Linked DNA regions of Homo sapiens: all the other regions are linked to region 3. Evidence: promoter capture Hi-C in 16 types of primary human blood cells and fetal thymus (Javierre and others, 2016). All regions are on one chromosome and are shown on one strand. Each heading gives the region's core, a stretch centred on a gene start or on the middle of the fragment in contact. The rest is flanking DNA. Distances are from core to core; before and after follow the strand shown.

What was found. Contacts are between HindIII fragments. The CHiCAGO score rates a contact against its expected background, and 5 or more counts as called.
Region 1: a fragment that was not itself captured here is called in contact with the fragment with the promoter of BACH2 in region 3 in 2 of 17 cell types (activated CD4 T cells and total CD4 T cells); the score reaches 9.0 in activated CD4 T cells.
Region 2: a contact is called between a fragment that was not itself captured here and the fragment with the promoter of BACH2 in region 3, in 2 of 17 cell types (megakaryocytes and fetal thymus). The highest score is 5.7, in megakaryocytes.
Region 4: a fragment that was not itself captured here is called in contact with the fragment with the promoter of BACH2 in region 3 in 2 of 17 cell types (activated CD4 T cells and naive CD8 T cells); the score reaches 10.3 in activated CD4 T cells.
Region 5: a fragment that was not itself captured here is called in contact with the fragment with the promoter of BACH2 in region 3 in 6 of 17 cell types (non-activated CD4 T cells, naive CD4 T cells, total CD8 T cells and 3 more); the score reaches 8.8 in non-activated CD4 T cells.
Region 6: a fragment that was not itself captured here is called in contact with the fragment with the promoter of BACH2 in region 3 in 2 of 17 cell types (non-activated CD4 T cells and naive CD4 T cells); the score reaches 5.6 in non-activated CD4 T cells.

What each region holds. Positions count from the first base shown.
Region 1 is chr6:89,853,390-89,856,120 of GRCh38, forward strand. It overlaps CASP8AP2 (caspase 8 associated protein 2), which reads left to right. Exons shown (of 10, transcript NM_012115.4): 4 at 1,428-1,528; 5 at 2,081-2,155. Among named protein-coding and RNA genes, the nearest start is that of CASP8AP2, 25 kb to the left of the region's middle. The HindIII fragment of the contact is 2,521 bases long and covers 21-2,541 here.
Region 2 is chr6:90,588,794-90,591,569 of GRCh38, forward strand. LOC124901363 (a long non-coding RNA gene) reads left to right here. Exons shown (of 2, transcript XR_007059680.1): 2 at 1,855-2,166. Among named protein-coding and RNA genes, the nearest start is that of MAP3K7, 3.1 kb to the left of the region's middle. The HindIII fragment of the contact is 5,597 bases long and covers 1-2,776 here.
Region 3 is chr6:90,295,217-90,298,138 of GRCh38, forward strand. It overlaps BACH2 (BACH transcriptional regulator 2), which reads right to left and starts at 1,627. Exons shown (of 9, transcript NM_021813.4): 1 at 1,264-1,627. LOC105377891 (a long non-coding RNA gene) reads left to right here and starts at 2,023. Exons shown (of 7, transcript XR_942778.4): 1 at 2,023-2,520. RefSeq lists an enhancer at 1-22 and silencers at 806-865, 1,491-1,540. The HindIII fragment of the contact is 2,083 bases long and covers 408-2,490 here.
Region 4 is chr6:89,872,010-89,874,972 of GRCh38, forward strand. CASP8AP2 (caspase 8 associated protein 2) reads left to right here. Exons shown (of 10, transcript NM_012115.4): 10 at 1,792-2,427. The coding sequence ends at 1,800. Among named protein-coding and RNA genes, the nearest start is that of GJA10, 21 kb to the right of the region's middle. The HindIII fragment of the contact is 700 bases long and covers 1,148-1,847 here.
Region 5 is chr6:90,009,700-90,012,521 of GRCh38, forward strand. The region is part of intron 5 of BACH2 (BACH transcriptional regulator 2); the gene reads right to left. Among named protein-coding and RNA genes, the nearest start is that of GJA10, 120 kb to the left of the region's middle. The HindIII fragment of the contact is 6,501 bases long and covers 1-2,822 here.
Region 6 is chr6:90,029,098-90,031,882 of GRCh38, forward strand. All of the region lies in intron 5 of BACH2 (BACH transcriptional regulator 2), which reads right to left. Among named protein-coding and RNA genes, the nearest start is that of GJA10, 140 kb to the left of the region's middle. The HindIII fragment of the contact is 873 bases long and covers 1,024-1,896 here.

The DNA of each region.
Region 1 (2,731 bases), core at 31-2,530, 440 kb before region 3:
CAGAACCCAATCTTAACCAAAGCTTGATCAGAAAAACAAATTAGCACACAGGTTTTTTATTCATCTCAGTCTCAGATTTAATTGAGCCTTGTGCAAAAACATTTTCTACTATTGAAGTGCAACTAGTGCTGGTGTCTGTTACTACTCACTCATACTCTTTTTTTTTTTTTTTTTTTTTGAGACGGAGTCTCACACTGTCGCCCAGGCTGGAATGCAGTGGCTTGATCTCGGCTCACTGCAACCTCCGCCTCCTGGGTTCAAGTGGTTCTCCTGCCTCAGCCTCCCAAGTAGCTGGGACTACAGGCACGTGCCACCACACCCGGCTAATTTTTTGTATTTTTAGTAGAGACAAGGTTTCACCATGTTAGCCTGGATGGTCTCGATCTCCTGACCTCGTGATCCGCCCACCTCAGCCTCCCAAAGTGCTGGGATTACAGGCATAAGTCACCACACCTGGCCGCACTCATACTCTTGAAGGTTATATGATATTAGAACATTTGAAAAGTGTAAGTTACTATAAATATTTTTAAACGTATCAGTAAGAGTGATATGCTGAGAATCTAATGACCTATTCAAATTAGAAACCTTTTCCATAATCAGATTTCTCAGAGTTTTGAACAGTTATGATCTTCATACCTAATTTGGTTGACACAACCATTTTAGGTAAATTGGTAGTCCATCTGTAAAATCAGTATAAATTTGGAATGTAGGATAAGTGAAATGTAGGATGAAGTATGGGAGATGGAGAAATGTATAATCTTTGAAGTAGATAAAATATCAAAAAGTGTAACAAGGCTGGGCGCGGTAGCTCACGCCTGTAATCCCAGCACTTTGCAAGGCCGAGGCGGGCGGATCCCCTGAGGTCAGGAGTTGGAGACCAGCCTGGCCAACATAGTGAAAACTCGTCTCTACTACAAATACAAAAAAAATTACCTGGGCATGGTGGCACGTGCCTATAGTCCCAGCTACTCAGGGAGGCTGAGGCAGAAGAATCGCTTGAACCCAGGAGGCGGAGGTTGCAGTGAGCCAAGATAGCGCCACTGCGCTCCAGCCTGGGTGACAGAGGGAGACTCCTAAAAAAAAAAGGTGTGACAAATATTTTCACTTTGTGAGGCCAAGGCGGGTGGATTTCTTGAGGTCAGGAGTTCGAGACCAGCCTGGCCAACATGGTGAAACACCATCTCACCATCTCTACTAAAAATACAAAAATTAGTGGGGCGTGGTGGCGTGCACCTGTAATCCCAGCTACTCGGGAGGCTGACGCATGAGAATGGCTTGAACCTGGGAGGGTGAGGCTACAGTGAGCCAAGATTTGCACCACTGCCACTGCACTCTAGCATGGGTGACAGAACGAGACTCAAAAAAACAAAAGAAAAAAGTGTAACAAGTATTTTTATGGAAGGTTTTTTTTGTTTGTTTGTTTTTAGACAGCGCTTCCAAATCCTGTGTACCATCAAGAAATTGTTTGGACTTATATGAAGAGATCCTGACTGAAGAAGGAACTGCAAAGGAGGCAACATATAATGATGTATGGGTTGCCACAATTATTAAGGACAGTTATTTACTGTTTTGTAGCTTCTGAAGAGCAGTCAGCTGCTTAGTTTTGAACAGATATTTTGTTTAGGAACTTAGCTCTTAGACTAACAAATATTTAAGTCAGTTTTTGTCTTCAGACCTGTTTTTTAAAGGAATGTTTTCTGAATACTTGTCTAAATTTAGTTATAATTTTGCTTGACCCAATTTAAGCATCTGAATATAAAACCTCAACAGGCAAACAGTGTTACAACATTTTTTCTTTCATGATATGTACAAAGTTAAATTATATGTTGCATAAAATGTCCTCAGACTTCTATTTCTTTCTACTATATTTGAATTTTAAGGTTTGGATGTTGAATGTGAAACTAAACAAAATAGATTATTTGTAGGCTTAACTTTAAAACTGGTTATCTTTCTGGTAGAAGTAGACCTCATCTGCCTTCTTAGTGAATTGATTTGCAAAATTTAAAATATTTAGAAATGCCAGTTAAGCTAAGAAAATAATTTTGAATGATACTTCAATTAATCCTTTTATATTTTATAGTTGCAAGTAGAATATGGAAAATGTCAACTACAAATGAAAGAGCTGATGAAAAAATTTAAAGAAATACAGACACAGGTAGAGTATAAATGAAAACATAAAAAACAAATTACCAGGCACAGTGACTCACACCAGTAATTTCAGCACTTTGAGAGGCAGAGGTGAGAGGATTGCTTGAGGCCAGGAGTTTGAGCCCAGCCTTAGCAAGGTAGCGAAACCTCATCTCTACAAAAAAATAAAACAATTAGCTGTGTATGGCCCCCTGTAGTCCTAGCTACTTAGGAGGCTGAGGAGGGAGGACTCTTGAACTCAGGAGTTTGAAGTTAAAGTGAGCTGTGATTGTGCCACTGCACTCCAGCCTGGGTGACAGAGCAAGACCCTGTCACTTAAAAAAAGTAAAACAACAAAAAAAAAGTTGTTATAAATAGAAATTAAAATGTTAAAGTGTTGACAGTTTATAAGGAAGCTTTCTTTTAGTATTAAATGAAATAGCAAATGTGGCAAGTATGCATTATTTCCTGAGTTGATGAAATTGAATGAAATAGCAAATGTGGCAAATATGCATTATTTTCCGAGTTGATGAAACTGATAAAGGAAAACGGCTTGATTTATTAAATGACATTGATTATAAAGGGTCTGTTAGACTTAGGCCAA
Region 2 (2,776 bases), core at 259-2,758, 290 kb after region 3:
TAATTACCACAGCCATGATGCAGTTCTCCTGCTTGATTTTTCCCCCCAAAATTTTGTTACAAAAATGTCAAATATAGAGAAAAGTTGAAAGAATTTATGGTGAACACCTATATGCCCACCACCAGGATTCTACCTTTAACATTTTACTATACTTGCTTTATCATAATATACATATGTGCATCTCATCTCTCCATCCATATTTACATCCATCTACCATTTTGCTAGATGCATTTCAAAGTGAATTGATTACATGATTTTGAATATCTTCTACCCCAACACTTCTATGTTTTATCCACTGATTTGGACTTCTAATATTGATGCCAGTCTAAAATCAATTTTTGTCCAACTTGCTTGCAGATTACTTTTTTCTTTTTTGTCTGCCTGCGCCTTTTCCCTAGCTTCTAGTAATAGATGGAAAGTTTCATCAGTGTTTATGTCTCTGGGTTCAGTCATTCCCAAGGTCCAATCCATCTCTTACATTCTGTGATTTGGTTATGTGAGCTAGTAAATTACCATTTCATTTAAGCTGGTCCAAGTTGTATTTTTGTCACTTGTAACCAAATAATCCTAAGTAATAAAGTTTAAATGCAGAGGAATGATGGAGGGGAGCTGAACCTCTCTCAGTTCACTTCAATTTTGACTTTGCATTTCCTTTAACTTTCATGAATTAAGGATAGAAACTTGACCTCAGAATTTCATGTCAACTTCAGTCACCAGTCTGTGTGTCTCCACACGTTTCCGGATACATATCAAAACTATTTAAGTAAATTCCTTGAAGTCCCTCCGAGTTTGAGCACCCTCCACCATTCTCCCTCATGTCAGCACCCTAATAACTACTCTCTAACTTCCAACTCTGTCTTCAATTTTGGCCCTTTTATACTCTCCAGGGGTTGAGAGGACAAGGGTTTCAAAATCCATTTCCCACCACCTCTTTGCTTGTTCTAAATGAGATTCTGATCTTATTTGGCTCATTTTGGGTGTAGGGATATCTGGGACCTATTTTAATGGAGGCTTAGCAGAAACTGGGACTAAAGTAACACCACTTTAATGTTCTGGGTCATATATATGTCAGACAAGTGTTCCATATTTCCATCATAGGCTTGATGATAACATCAATAATTGAGTTTCCATTATTCTCTTCTGCCTTTTGTGGTATTTGCTATATTCTACAATAGTGTTTTTCAATCTTTTTTTTCATTATTGTTCTTTTAAGGAGCCTTTTTAGACATCTTAATGCCCCTCCTCAAAGTTTTAATACCTCAGATACACTGTATATCTATTTATGTATTGTATGTATATTTGTGCTTTCTATGTAAAAAGAGTAAGATTTTTTCTCTCTCCAGTTTTTGCCCCCTGTGGAGGTGTTATTGCCTCCATTGAGAATGCATGTACTAGCAGTTTCATTTTTCACATGACACATCACAAAGTACAACCGAGAGCATCTCTTGGTAGCCATCTCAGAAGAGCAGTTAAACATTCTTTTTCAAAAGCCCTTGGTAAGTTTACCCTTGAGGGATGGGGAACAGGATGCTTGAGGATACACACAGTCATGCGCTGCATAACGATTTTTTGGTCAATGGACCTCATATGTGACAGTGGTCCTATATGATTATAATGAAGCTGAAAAAATCCTATTGGCTAGTGACATTGTAGCCATAGTAATGTCATAGCATGACACATTACTTATAGTGCATTACTCGTGTTTGTGGTGATACTGGTGTAAACAAACTTATGCTGCTAGTCATACAAAAGTATAATACAATTATGTGCAGTGCATAATATTGATAATGATAAACAACTATGTTACTGGTTTATATAATTACTATACTATACTTTTTAATTGTTATTTTACAGTGTACTCCTACTTCCATAAAAAAACTATAAAACAGCCTCAGGCAGGTCCTTCAGGAGGTATTCCAGAAGAAGGCATTGTTATCATAAGAGATGACTGCTCCGTGCGTGTTATTGCCCCTGAAGACTTTCTGGTGGGACAAGATGTGGAGGTGGAAGATAGTGATGTTGATGATCCTGACCCTGTGTAGGTAGACCTAGGCCAACATATGTTTGTCTTACTTTTTAGCCAAAACGTTTAAAAACTATAAAAAAATAAATAAACAGAAAAAAGTGTATAGAATAAGGATCCAAATAAAATACTTTTGTACAGCTGTTCAGTGTGTTTGTGTTTTAAAGCTAAGTGTTATTACAAAAGAGTCAAAAAGTTTTAAAAAATTTAAAAGTTTATGAAGTAAAAGAGTTATAATAAGCTAAGGTTAATTTATTGTTGAAGAAAACTTTTAAAAAATAAATTTAGTGTAACCCAAGAGTACAGTGTTTATAAAGTCTACAGTAGTGTACAGTAATGTTCTAGGCCTTCGCATTCACTCACCAGTCACTCACTGGCTCACCCAGAGTAACTTCCAGTCTTGCAAACTCCATTTATGGTGAGTGCCCTATATAGGTGTACCATTTTTTTAAATCTTTTATATTGTTTCGTTACTGTACCTTTTCTATGTTTAGATACACAAATACCATTGTGTTACATTTGCCTGCAGTATTCAGTATAGTAACATGGTTTATACAGCTTGTAGCCTAGGAACAGGTATAGCTGTTATATACCTAGGTATACCATATAGCCTAGGTGTATAGTAGGCTATGTCATCTTGTAATGATATAAGTATATAATGTTTGTATAAGTACACTCTATGATGTTCACATAATGGTGGAATTGCCGATCAACACACTTCTCAAAACTTATCCCTGTAGTTAAGCAATGCAT
Region 3 (2,922 bases), core at 377-2,876:
TCATCGGGCCACAGACAAACCACCCCGGCAGCGGCCGCGCCGGAACTTCCCTCAAGTTACCAAACTCGCCTACGCGCGGGAGAGTGCTGGGGATGCCCCATGCGCCCGCGACCCCAGAAGCCAGGAGTGTGCCACCCCTTCACACACTCACTCCCGGCCCTGCACGCTTCCCCTCACGGTCCGAGTTCCTGCAAATGCTTGGCCAGACCGAGGTCGCCGAGATGCTCGCTCCAGTCTCTCCCCTCGTGGGCACCTAGGGTAGCCCGTGAGCGCCGCCCGCCGCCGTCTCCAGCGGCGCCGGGCTCCCGAACACCCGCCGGGTGAGCGAAGCACAGCGGGGCCACGGAGCGCCTCGACGCGGGGACGGGGAGGGCAGTGTCCCCTTCATAAACCAGTCTCCTGGGTGAAGCTTCTGGGGCTTGGAGACTGGAGTGTAGGGTGTGTGTGTGTGTGTGTGTGTGTGTGTGTTGCACCTTGACTTCATGGAGGATCTGTGGGAGAGGAGGTGCAAGGTTTCCCTCTCAGAAGCCTGGCGCCCTTAGGTCTTAGCTACGCGGGACGCTTTCCGACAACCCGATCTTTCGCTAGGAGAGATTCGATCCAGGTCTGCGCCGCGAGGCCCCCAGCTCGCCTCTTCCTGCGACCCTAAACTTGGGCTTTGATTCCCCGCCGGTCGCGGTGGTCCGGGCCACCCGGCGGCGGCTGACAGCTGAGCGCAAAGGCGCCGCGGCCAAGGTCCTCGCGGAGCAGCCCGGGATGCGCACGCCGAGGGTTAAGGAGGAGGCCGCCCGGCCTGGAGCTGGGATCGCAGGCTGGGGGCCGGGACACCCGGGCCTCGCCGGGCCGGGGGCAGGGCCGCGGGTCTGACAGCTGCTGCGGCTCGCGCGGACGCGCGCCTCCTGCAGCCCGCCCTCCCCATGCCTGACTTATTACTCTCTGCTCCTCCTCCCTCTGCTGTTCCAAAACACCCTTCGACGCCAGCAAAATACAATGCGCCTCGGCCGCCGTAAACAGCCGGGAGGGAGAGCACACATTCGGCGCGGCGCGGCCGCCGGCTCGGCTCCCACCCCCTTCCCGTTCCTAGAAAATGCCATAAAAGCGGGCAGGGCGCGGGGAGGGCGGCTGCGCGCCCGGCGGCCGGGGCTCCCTTCCCGCGCCGTTTCCCCACGCCTCCCCGCCCGCCCCGCGCGCCCGCTCCCCCCGCAAACTTGCCCCGCCACCCCGCCCAGCGGCGGGGCCCGGGGCCCGGGGCCCGGGACTCACCTCGCCGGAGAACTTTGCGTCCTTTTCCGCCTCCTCTTCCCCGCGTCTTCCCGGCTCGCAGCCCCCTCCCGGCAGCCGGCGAGGTGGGCAGTTCGTGGGTCACCGAAAGCTCGCGGAGGGGACGCGCATCACATGGCAGCTCGTTCCCAGCCCCCCGAGTGCGCCGGGAAGGGGGAGGGGAAGGGGCGAGGGGAGGCCGGGGGGAAAGCGAGAGCGGGGCGGCGGCGGGAGTGGGCAGGCGGGGTGGCGAGGGCGGCGGCCGCTCACGTTAGCGCTGTGCGACCGCAGCCCGGGCGTGCACGGCCGCTGCTGCCGCTGCTGCTGCTGCTGCTGCTGCTGAGGCGGCGGCGGCTCGGCGCTGTTTGCTCCGCGCCGCGCGGCTTGCGCTCTCCCCGGAACGCCCACACTCTCAATCGCTACATTGTTGACATTCGGCGCTGACGTCACCCGCTCCCCATTCACAATAACTTTACGGGAGCCGGGCAGCGCACCTCCCCGGCCGCTGGGGCGCGGTACGCCCGGCGACTAGCGTAAGCCGCTCCGCGAATGGCGCTCCGGGGGCTGGGGCGGGGGGCGGGGGACGGGGGCGGGCGCGCGCGCTCCGCTGGCTCGCGGGAGGGGGCGCGCCTCATGCCGCCGCAGCAGCAGATCTCCCCGCTTTGTGCGGCCGCGCGGCCCGGAGAGCCCCCTCCTCCCGGCCCGGCTGACCGCCCCGCTCGGCCTGGCCTTCCCGGCCACGAAAGACGAGGGTTGGGGGCATAGCAGGGTGAGAGTAGTGGTGAGGGCTGGTGTGGCACGTGGGGAGGGGGCCAGAGCCCTAGGTGCTGCACCTGGGGAAGGAGAGCAGACGTCGGGACCGGGGATCCCAGGGTTAGCTAGCGTTTTCCCGGAAGGGCAAGAAAAGATGCTCCACTGGCCCCCACAAAGCTGACCGGACTCCCTTTTGGGTGGGGACCGGGCGAGTAAAAGCAGCCTTTTGAATGTTGACTTCTCAATCCTTTTCAGGAGGCCCTCCGCCTGCCCTACTGAGCGAACCTTTAAGCCCCCAAGCCAGTGTTTTTGGAAAGAGAGTGGTCAATTTCAGGAGGACATTAAAAGCCAACCTCCCGGGCTTCAGCCCCAGCTCCTACTGCCTTCCAGCCACTCTCCCCTGCCTTTCCTTTCTGCGGCTCTTAGGATGTTGTTGCTGCCCTTAAAGGCCGTCGTGTGAGTGCCCTGTCAGAAGAAAGCTTGGTGGTGGTTAGGATTTTACAGAAGGTAATTAGGATTTAGGCTGAATGTACATTTGCAATAAAATAAGGTTGTGTTAGTGTTGTGCTGGTGCCTGCAACTTTACCTCTTGCCAAGGCCAGAAAATTCTGCCACGTTTCCCTAAACACCTATAACTTGGCCCTCTTGTGTACAGGCAGTATTCCATATTATTACACGTGGTGCTGATTTTTAATGAATATTATAAAAGTTTGGCTCGCTCTACTGAGAGAAGGATCATAAATCCCCCCTGTAAAACGGGCACTGGCGTATGCTGAGGAAGCAGTGAAGCGTCCTGGGAGTCTTGTGATATCATCTAAAGTGTTGCTCTGAACTACCTTCATTTGAGGGCAGAGTTTTGAAAGGCCCCATTTGGAATGTCTGTGTGGAAAGCTAAGTGATGGCTGAAAG
Region 4 (2,963 bases), core at 248-2,747, 420 kb before region 3:
CGCCACCTCCTGGGTTCAAGTGATTCTTGTGCTTAAGCCACCCGAGTATCTGGGATTACAGGTGTGTGCCACCACACCCAGCTAATTTTTTGTATGTTTAGTAGATTACTAGAGAGGCGGAGTTTTGCTGTGTTGGCCAGGCTGGTCTTGAACTCTGGGTCTCATGTGATCTGCTCACCTCGGCCTCCCAAAGTGCTGGGATTACAGGCGTGAAAAAAATGTTTTAAGAGATGGAGTCAGGCCAGGCGCGATGGCTCACGCCTGTAATCCCAGCACTTTGGGAGGCCGAGGAGGGCAGATCACAAGGTCAGGAGATTGAGACCATCCTGGCTAACATGGTGAAACCCCGTCTCTACTAAAAATACAAAAAATTAGCCGGGCACAGTGGCACACCTGTAATCCCAGCACTTTGGGAGGCCGAGGTGGGCAGATCATTTGAGGCCAGGAGTTCTATACCAGCCTGGCCAACATGGTGAAACCCCATCTCTACAAAAAATACAAAAATTAGCTAGGCATGGTGGCACGTGTCTGTAATCCCAGCTACTTGGGAGACTGAGGCATGAGAATCGCTTGAACCTGGGAGGTGGAGGTTGCGGTGAGCCAAGATTGCGCCACTACACTCCAGCCTGAAAGAGTGAGACTCTGCCTCTCAGAAAGAAAAGAAAAAAAAAACAAAAACTTGATTTGGACATAGAGCGCAGTGCTAGTGAAATCTTCAAAATATGTGTAGTAGTTTACTATGATGTTAAATTTCTTTTGTTTGTTCTGAGACGGAGTCTCACTCTGTCGCCCGGGCTGGAGTGCAGCCGCATGATCGCAGCTCACTGCAACTTCTGCCTCTCGGGTTCAAGTGATTATGACGTTAAATTTCTACTTATATAATTCAGAATGTTGCCGGGTGCAGTGGCTCATGCCTGTAATCCGAGCACTTTGGGAGGCTAAGGTGGGCAGGTCACCTGAGTTCAGGAGTTCGAGACCAGCCCAGCCAACATGATGATACTTCATTTCTACCAAAATTACAAAAATTAGCTGGGTATGGTGGAACGTGCCTGTAATCCCAGCTACTTGGGAGCCTGAGGCAGGAGAATCACTTGAACAAAACACAACAGAATACTGTAAGCTTGAATAATGGGGAATTTGGAGAAGAAGCTTATTCTAAAGAACTTTTTTTTAAAAAGCTCTGGGCAAAAGTGGCTTGATTATTTATTAGATTAACTGTGCTTTTTAAGATTTTTGCTGCCTTTAAGAAATTAAATCGTTTCTTTTTTTTACCTTAATGTTATATTAAAGTATGATTTCCGTTCTCTTGTGAAGAGAATGTAAATTCTTTTAAACAGAGATGGGGTTTCGCTGTGTTGCCCAGGCTGGTCTCGAACTCCTGGATTCAAGCGATCCATCTGCCTTGGCCTCCCAAAGTGCTCAGATTACAGGCGTAAGCTACTGCACCTGGCCAAAAATCTAAAACCATTTAATGAATTTGATATTTGAGATTTCTTTGCTTGCAGGATAGCACATATTGTGGGTTATTTCATTCGTAGCTTGCCTCTTAACTGATTTTTTTTCCCCACAAGTACTGTAGTCCTATTAAATTTTTGTCAATATCAAGTATAATGATAGTTACCAAACTGATTGCAAAAGCTAGGTTTTTTTTTAAATTTTGAGACCAATTGGAAGATGAGAAAGCTAGTTTATTAAACACCAATATCGTCTAAATGGAGCTCATTTAAGATAACACATTATGAGATAGTCCTATCAGAAAAATAGAATAATAACTTTAGCATTTTCTTACATTACAGATAAGTTGCTGAATTCCTGGGACTCTTAACTGATATTGCATACTACACAGAAGCTTCAAATTCCTCATGTTTTAAATGAGCACTAGAGGGAGGTTTATCACCTTTTTGGTTACCAGATGATAATCTATATTTGTTATTACTCAGTGACTCTCTAATTTCACATCAGCATGTTCAGCTTGTGCTAGTCATCATTCTGATTTGCTTATCTGTTTTTGGTCAAAATATTTATTTTTAAACATGTTAGAACTTACCAAAATGAAAGCAACAGTGATGTATTGAAATCTTAGTTTTGATATTTTAAAGAAATGACTTTCTAGATTAAAAAAATAGTTTTGTAGCATTTTAAACTTAGTGACTATTTAGTTCAATTGTTCATCCATTTTTTATTTGCTTTTATAATTGCCTCCTTGTTTTGGTATATTGTAAAATAATTTAAATAATGTATTTATAAATATGTATAATTATGATGTAAAATACCGTGTGTATATGTATGTATGTGTGTTTCTGTATATGCACACACATAAACGGCTTTGCCTAGCCAAGGATTTTTTTTATCTGTATAAAACTTTTTGTATAAAGTTTGCTTTCAATAACAGTAATGTATAATAAAACCATGTAAAGTTTTGTTGTATTTTGATTCGAATGTTTCTTTTACTTTTATTGTGTTTAGGTAATAATTTAAAAAATCAAAAGAGGTAAAAGTCCTAGGGGACGTAGGGTGCAATTTTGAAGTGGTTCCTGGTTGGGGTGTGGCTGGCTGAATGGTTCTGAGTAGATTGAGAAAACTGATTGCTGTTGCCTGCCTTCTCACAGCAAGTACTAGAACGGTGAACCATATCTCTGCTGCAGGTGTCCTCACAGATAAAATTAGAGTAGCACAAGAGCTTTTTGGGTGAAGCTTTGGAGAAAACAGGTGTAAGGATTGATTAGCTTGGGCATTACTTCTTCACCCTTCAGCCTTCAGACTCACAGAACTTCTCAGTTAATAATCTAGGCCCTAGACTCTAGGAAGTGCCTCTTCTCATTGCCATTTTTCTCAGGGTGTCCAAAGGAAGAAGCCCTGTCCTAAAAGATTACACATTGAAATAAATAGCAGTGGTTTTGTAGTGCTAGGGCTCTCCAACATGGGGCTTGTCCCCTTCCCTCTCTTTGAACCCTTAATACCAA
Region 5 (2,822 bases), core at 75-2,574, 290 kb before region 3:
GTCGCCCAGGCTGAAGTGCAATGGTGCGATTCTCAGCTCACTGCAACCTCCACCTCCTGGGTTCAAGTGATTCTCCTGCCTCCGCTTCCCAAGTAGCTGGGATTACAGGCATGTGCCACCGTGCCTAACTAATTTTTGTATTTTTAGTACAGACGGGATTTCACCATCTTGGCCAGGCTGGTTTTGAACTCCTGACCTCAGGTGATCCACCCGCCTCGGCCTCCCAAAGTGCTGGGATTACAGGCGTGAGCCACTGTGCCTGGCCCCGCTGAGGTATTTTAAAATACAGTATCTGTAATTAATTTATATAGTTACATAGTTTTTCTGTAATGTTTGCTAGAGTAGTAAGAATTCCAGTAGCGAGTCCTACTTTCTTTTTGGCTTTCTTATTTTTTTAAAACAGCTTTAACATACAATAAACTGTACATATTTATAGTGAGCAATTTGATGTTTTGATTGTGTATGTAACTGTGAAACCATCATCACAATAAAGATAGTAAACAAATCCATCATCACCAAAAGTCTCCTTAAGGCCCTTGTAATAATTTTTCCCTTGTACCTCTCTGTACCCCACCGCTACAACGACTGATCAGCTTTCTGACATTCTATATTAGCTTGCATTTTCTAGAGTTTCATATAAATGGAATCATAAACTACATATTCTTTTATATCTGGCTTCTTCTATTCAGCATAATTATTTCACCATTCATCCATGTTGCTGCATATATCAAGTTTGTTCCTTTATTACTTAGCATCCTATTGTATAAATATAGCGTAACTTTTTTTTTATCCATTCATCTATTAGTGGATATTTGGGTTGTTTCCAGTATTTATTTACAAATAAAGCTGCTGTGAACATTCACATACAATTCTTTGGATGGACATATGCTTTCACTTCTCTTGGGTAAATACCTGTGAGTAGAATGTATTATATGGTATGTGTAAGCATAACTTTTAAAGAGTCTGCCACTGTTTTCTAAAGTGGCTGTAACATTTTACATTTCCACCAGCAGTGTATGAGTTCCAGTTCCTTCACATCCTTGCCAACATTTGGTATGGTCACTCTTTCTAGTTTTGGACATTGTAATAGGTCTATCATATTTCTTTTTGGGTTTAATTTGCTTTCTCTAATGCCTGAAGTTGTTGAGAATCTTCCATGTGTTTATTTGACCTCTGTATATTTTCTTTGAAGAAATGTCTATTTAGATTCTTTGCCCATTTTTAATTGGGTTGTTTTCTTATTTTTCAGTTTTAAGAGTTCTTCATATATTCTGAATAAAAGTCCTTTATCAGATACATGACTTGTAAAAATTTTTTCCCAGTCTGTAGCTTGTCTTTTGATTCTCTTAAAAGTGTCTTTCAAGGAACAGAAAGTCTTTATTTGATGAAGCCAAAAAACCATCTTGGTGTCACATCTAAAAAACTAAACCAAGGTCATAAAGATTTTCTCTTGTTTTCTGCTAGAAGTGTTATTTTTTTAGCCCTTACATTTAGGTCTATGGCCCATTTTGAGTTAATTTTTGTGTAGGTAACAGGTATGGATTGAGGTTCTTTTTTTCCTTTTGCATAGGAATATCCAATCATTCCCGCAGCATTGTTAAAAATACTCTTTTCTCTCCTGAATTACCTTTGTATTTTTACTGAAAATCAGTTGTTTTTACATGTATGAATCTATTTATGGACTCTGTCTTTTACTATTTTTATGTTTGTCTACTTTTGTTTTTTTTGGAGACAAACCTTGCTTATTTGTACTTTTACTGAAAATCAGTTGTTTTTACATTTATGAATCTATTTATGGACTCTGTCTTTTACTATTTTTATGTTTGTCTACTTTTGTTTTGTTTTGTTTTGGAGACAGGGTATCACTTTGGAGTGCAGTGGCATGGCCATAGCTCACAGCAGTAGCTGGCACTACAGGTGTGCATCACCGTATCTGGCTAATTTAAAAATATTTTTTGTATTCCTGTAATCCCAGCACTTTGGGAGGCTGAGGCAGGCAGGTTACGAGGTCAGGAGTTCGAGACCAGCCTGGCCAACACAGCGAAACTGCGTCTTTACTAAAAATACAAAAATTAGCTGGGTGTGGTGGTACGTGCCTGTAATCCCAGCTACTTGGGAGGCGGAGACAGGAGAATCGCTTGAACCCAGAAGGCGGAGGTTGCAGTGGCCGAGATCACACCACTGCACTCCAGCCTGGGTGACACAGCAAGACTCTGTCTCAAAAAAAAAAATATGTGTGTGTGTGTGTGTGTGTGTGTGTGTGTGTGTGTGTGTGTATGAGTGATGAGGTCTCGCCATATTGCCCAGGCTAGTCTCAAACTCCTGGCGTCAAGTGATCCTCCTACCTCAGCCTCCTAAAGTGCTGGGATTACAGATGTGAGCCACTGTACCCAGCCTCTATATCTACTTTTATGTTACTATCATAGTGTCTTGATTTGCTCTTTTTCAAAGTTAGTTTGATCCTTTGCATTTCCATATACATTTTATAATCAGCTTGCCAATTTCTACAAAATAGTCTGCTGGAATTTTCACTGAGATTGTACTGAATCTACTGATGAATTTAGGAAGAACTGCCATCTTAACAATAATGAATCTTCTGACCCATGAACACAGTCTCTTTATTTAGATCATCTTGAATTTTTCTCAGCAGCCGGGCATGGTGGCTTACGCCTGTAATCACAAGACTTTGGGAGGCTGAGGCAGGTGGATAACTTGAGGTAAGGAGTGTGAGACCAGCCTGGCCAACATGCTGAAACCCCATCTCTACTAAAAACGCAAAAATTAGCCAGGCATGGTAGCGTGTGCCTGTAATCCCAGCTACT
Region 6 (2,785 bases), core at 210-2,709, 270 kb before region 3:
CCACCTAACACCCAGACTCTCCCGGCCTGCTTCCTATCTCTGGAAATAACAATAGTTCTCTAACTGCATAGATTTAGGGTAACCACAGCAGGTTCAGCGATCTGCATTTTAACCCCATGACAGCTGATTTCAAACAACCCTACAAACTAAGACTCCCCGCCCTGCCATTCCAAGAACGAGGGGACTTGGGCAATTTATTTAAGTCCTTAGAGTCTCCTTATGTGTGAAATGAAGATAAAGACTGTCTCCCGAGAGACTGTTAGGAGATGTAAATGTGATGGCTCAATCCCTGGCCTCCTCAGGTCTCTGTGCAGACATCACATTCTCAGTGAGGCCTCCCTAACCACCCTGCTCCGTTTAAACCACAACCCCAGCCTCCCACCTCACTCTCCATCCTCCCTCCCTGTTTATGTTTCTTTATAACGTTTTCACATCTCACACACACTATATTTTACTCATATTTTGTTAATGACCTATTTTTCTATTGAGGGCAGGAATTTTTACCTGTTTTGCTCACCATTGAAGCCGCAGAACTTCAAAGTGCTACACTCAATACATACTTAATAAGAAAGTGACTAAAAAAGACTTTTCCTAATCCCAACAGGTCCATATGTCACTTCTGTTTCTGCTGAGGTCTCCTTCCAGCCTGTTTCTTCACACATATCCCTACGCTCTCCAGAGCTGCTTGTCTTTTCTGGGCCTCAAGGTCGCCTTGCCTATCCATTTATCCACAGAAAACTTACTCCATTCTAAGCAATGCGACCGTTAGAGAAAACTAATGATATAACCTCCAAGACACACAGCCAAGATAATGGGATGGTACAAAAGCAAAAGAAAGGCTTAGATTGACACAGTGAAGGAAAAGCTCCCATTTGCAGAGATGCTGAGTAGAAGGTCTTGAGTGTGCTTTATTTCTGAAGCTCTCTGTGCTCAAATACTCACAAATCCAGAAACACATTGCCCATTGGCTCTATACAATGTGGATCCTTGCAGAGTAGAATTAGGCTGTTCTCTCCTGGTAAAAGCTTGTGTGCTCTTGCTTCTAAGAGATGGCTCTGATCCCACCCCCTTATGTCCACGGCCTATCTCAAACTGCCAAACAGAGGACCAATTATGCCCTTCCTTTCCGCAGCCCTCAGGAAAACAGCCAGCACACAGGACCCTCAATGGCACCCTCAGGATGATGCTTTCAGAATGTGACAGCGACCACAGCCCAGGCCTCTGCTGCCCTGGGAGTAGACGTGGCTCTGGAAGGCCTGGGTTTGAGAGAAGATGGTAGGAGGAAGGTTTCTGATTTTCGAATGAAAATCAGACCAGCAGGGTTTTTTGAAAAGATCAACAACATTGATAGACCGCTAGCAAGACTAATCAAGAAGAAAAGAGAGAAGAATCAAATAGACGCAATAAAAAATGACAAAGGGGATATCACCACCGATGCCACAGAAATACAAACTACCATCAGAGAATACGATAAACACCTCTACGCAAATAAACTAGAAAATCTAGAAGAAATGGATAAATTCCTTGACACATACACCCTCCCAAGACTAAACCAGGAACAAGTTGAATCTCTGAATAGACCAATAACAGGTTCTGAAATTGAGGCAATAATTAATAGCTTACCAACCAAAAAAAGTCCAGGACCAGATGGATTCACAGCCGAATTCTACCAGAGGTACAAGGAGGGGCTGGTACCATTCCTTCTGAAACTATTCCAATCAATAGAAAAAGAGGGAATCCTCCCTGACTCATTTTATGAGGCCAGCATCATCCTGATACCAAAGCCTGGCAGAGACACAACAAAAAAAGAGAATTTTAGACCAATATCCTTGATGAACATTGATGCAAAAATCCTCAAGAAAATACTGGCAAAACAAATCCAGCAGCACATCAAAAAGCTTATCCACCATGATCAAGTGGGCTTCATCCCTGGGATGCAAGGCTGGTTCAACATACGCAAATCAATAAACATAATCCAACATATAAACAGAACCAATGACAAAAACCACATGATTATCTCAATAGATGCAGAAAAGGCCTTTGACAAAATTCAACAACCTTCATGCTAAAAATTCTCAATAAATTAGGTATTGATGGGACATATCTCAAAATAATAAGAGCTATCTATGACAAACCCACAGCCAATATCATACTGAATGGGCAAAAACTGGAAGCATTCCCTTTGAAAATTGGCACAAGACAGGGATGCCCTCTCTCACCACTCCTATTCAACATAGTGTTGGAAGTTCTGGCCAGGGCAACCAGGCAGGAGAAGGAAATAAAGGGTATTCAATTAGGAAAAGAGGAAGTCAAATTGTCCCTCTTTGCAGATGACATGATTGTATATCTAGAAAACCCCATCTTCTCAGCCCAAAATCTCCTTAAGCTGATAGGCAACTTCAGCAAAGTCTCAGGATACAAAATCAATGTGCAAAAATCATGAGCATTCTTATACACCAATAACAGACAAACAGAGAGCCAAATCATGAGTGAACTCCCATTCACAATTGCTTCAAAGAGAATAAAATACTTAGGAATCCAACATACAAGGGATGTGAAGGACCTCTTCAAGGAGAACTACAAGCCACTGCTCAATGAAATAAAAGAGGATATAAACAAATGGAAGAACATTCCATGCTCATGGGTAGGAAGAATCAATATCATGAAAATGGCCATACTGCCCAAAGTAATTTATAGATTCAGTGCCATCCCCATCAAGCTACCAATGACTTTCTTCACAGAATTGGAAAAAACTACTTTAAAGTTCATACGGAAACAAAAAAAG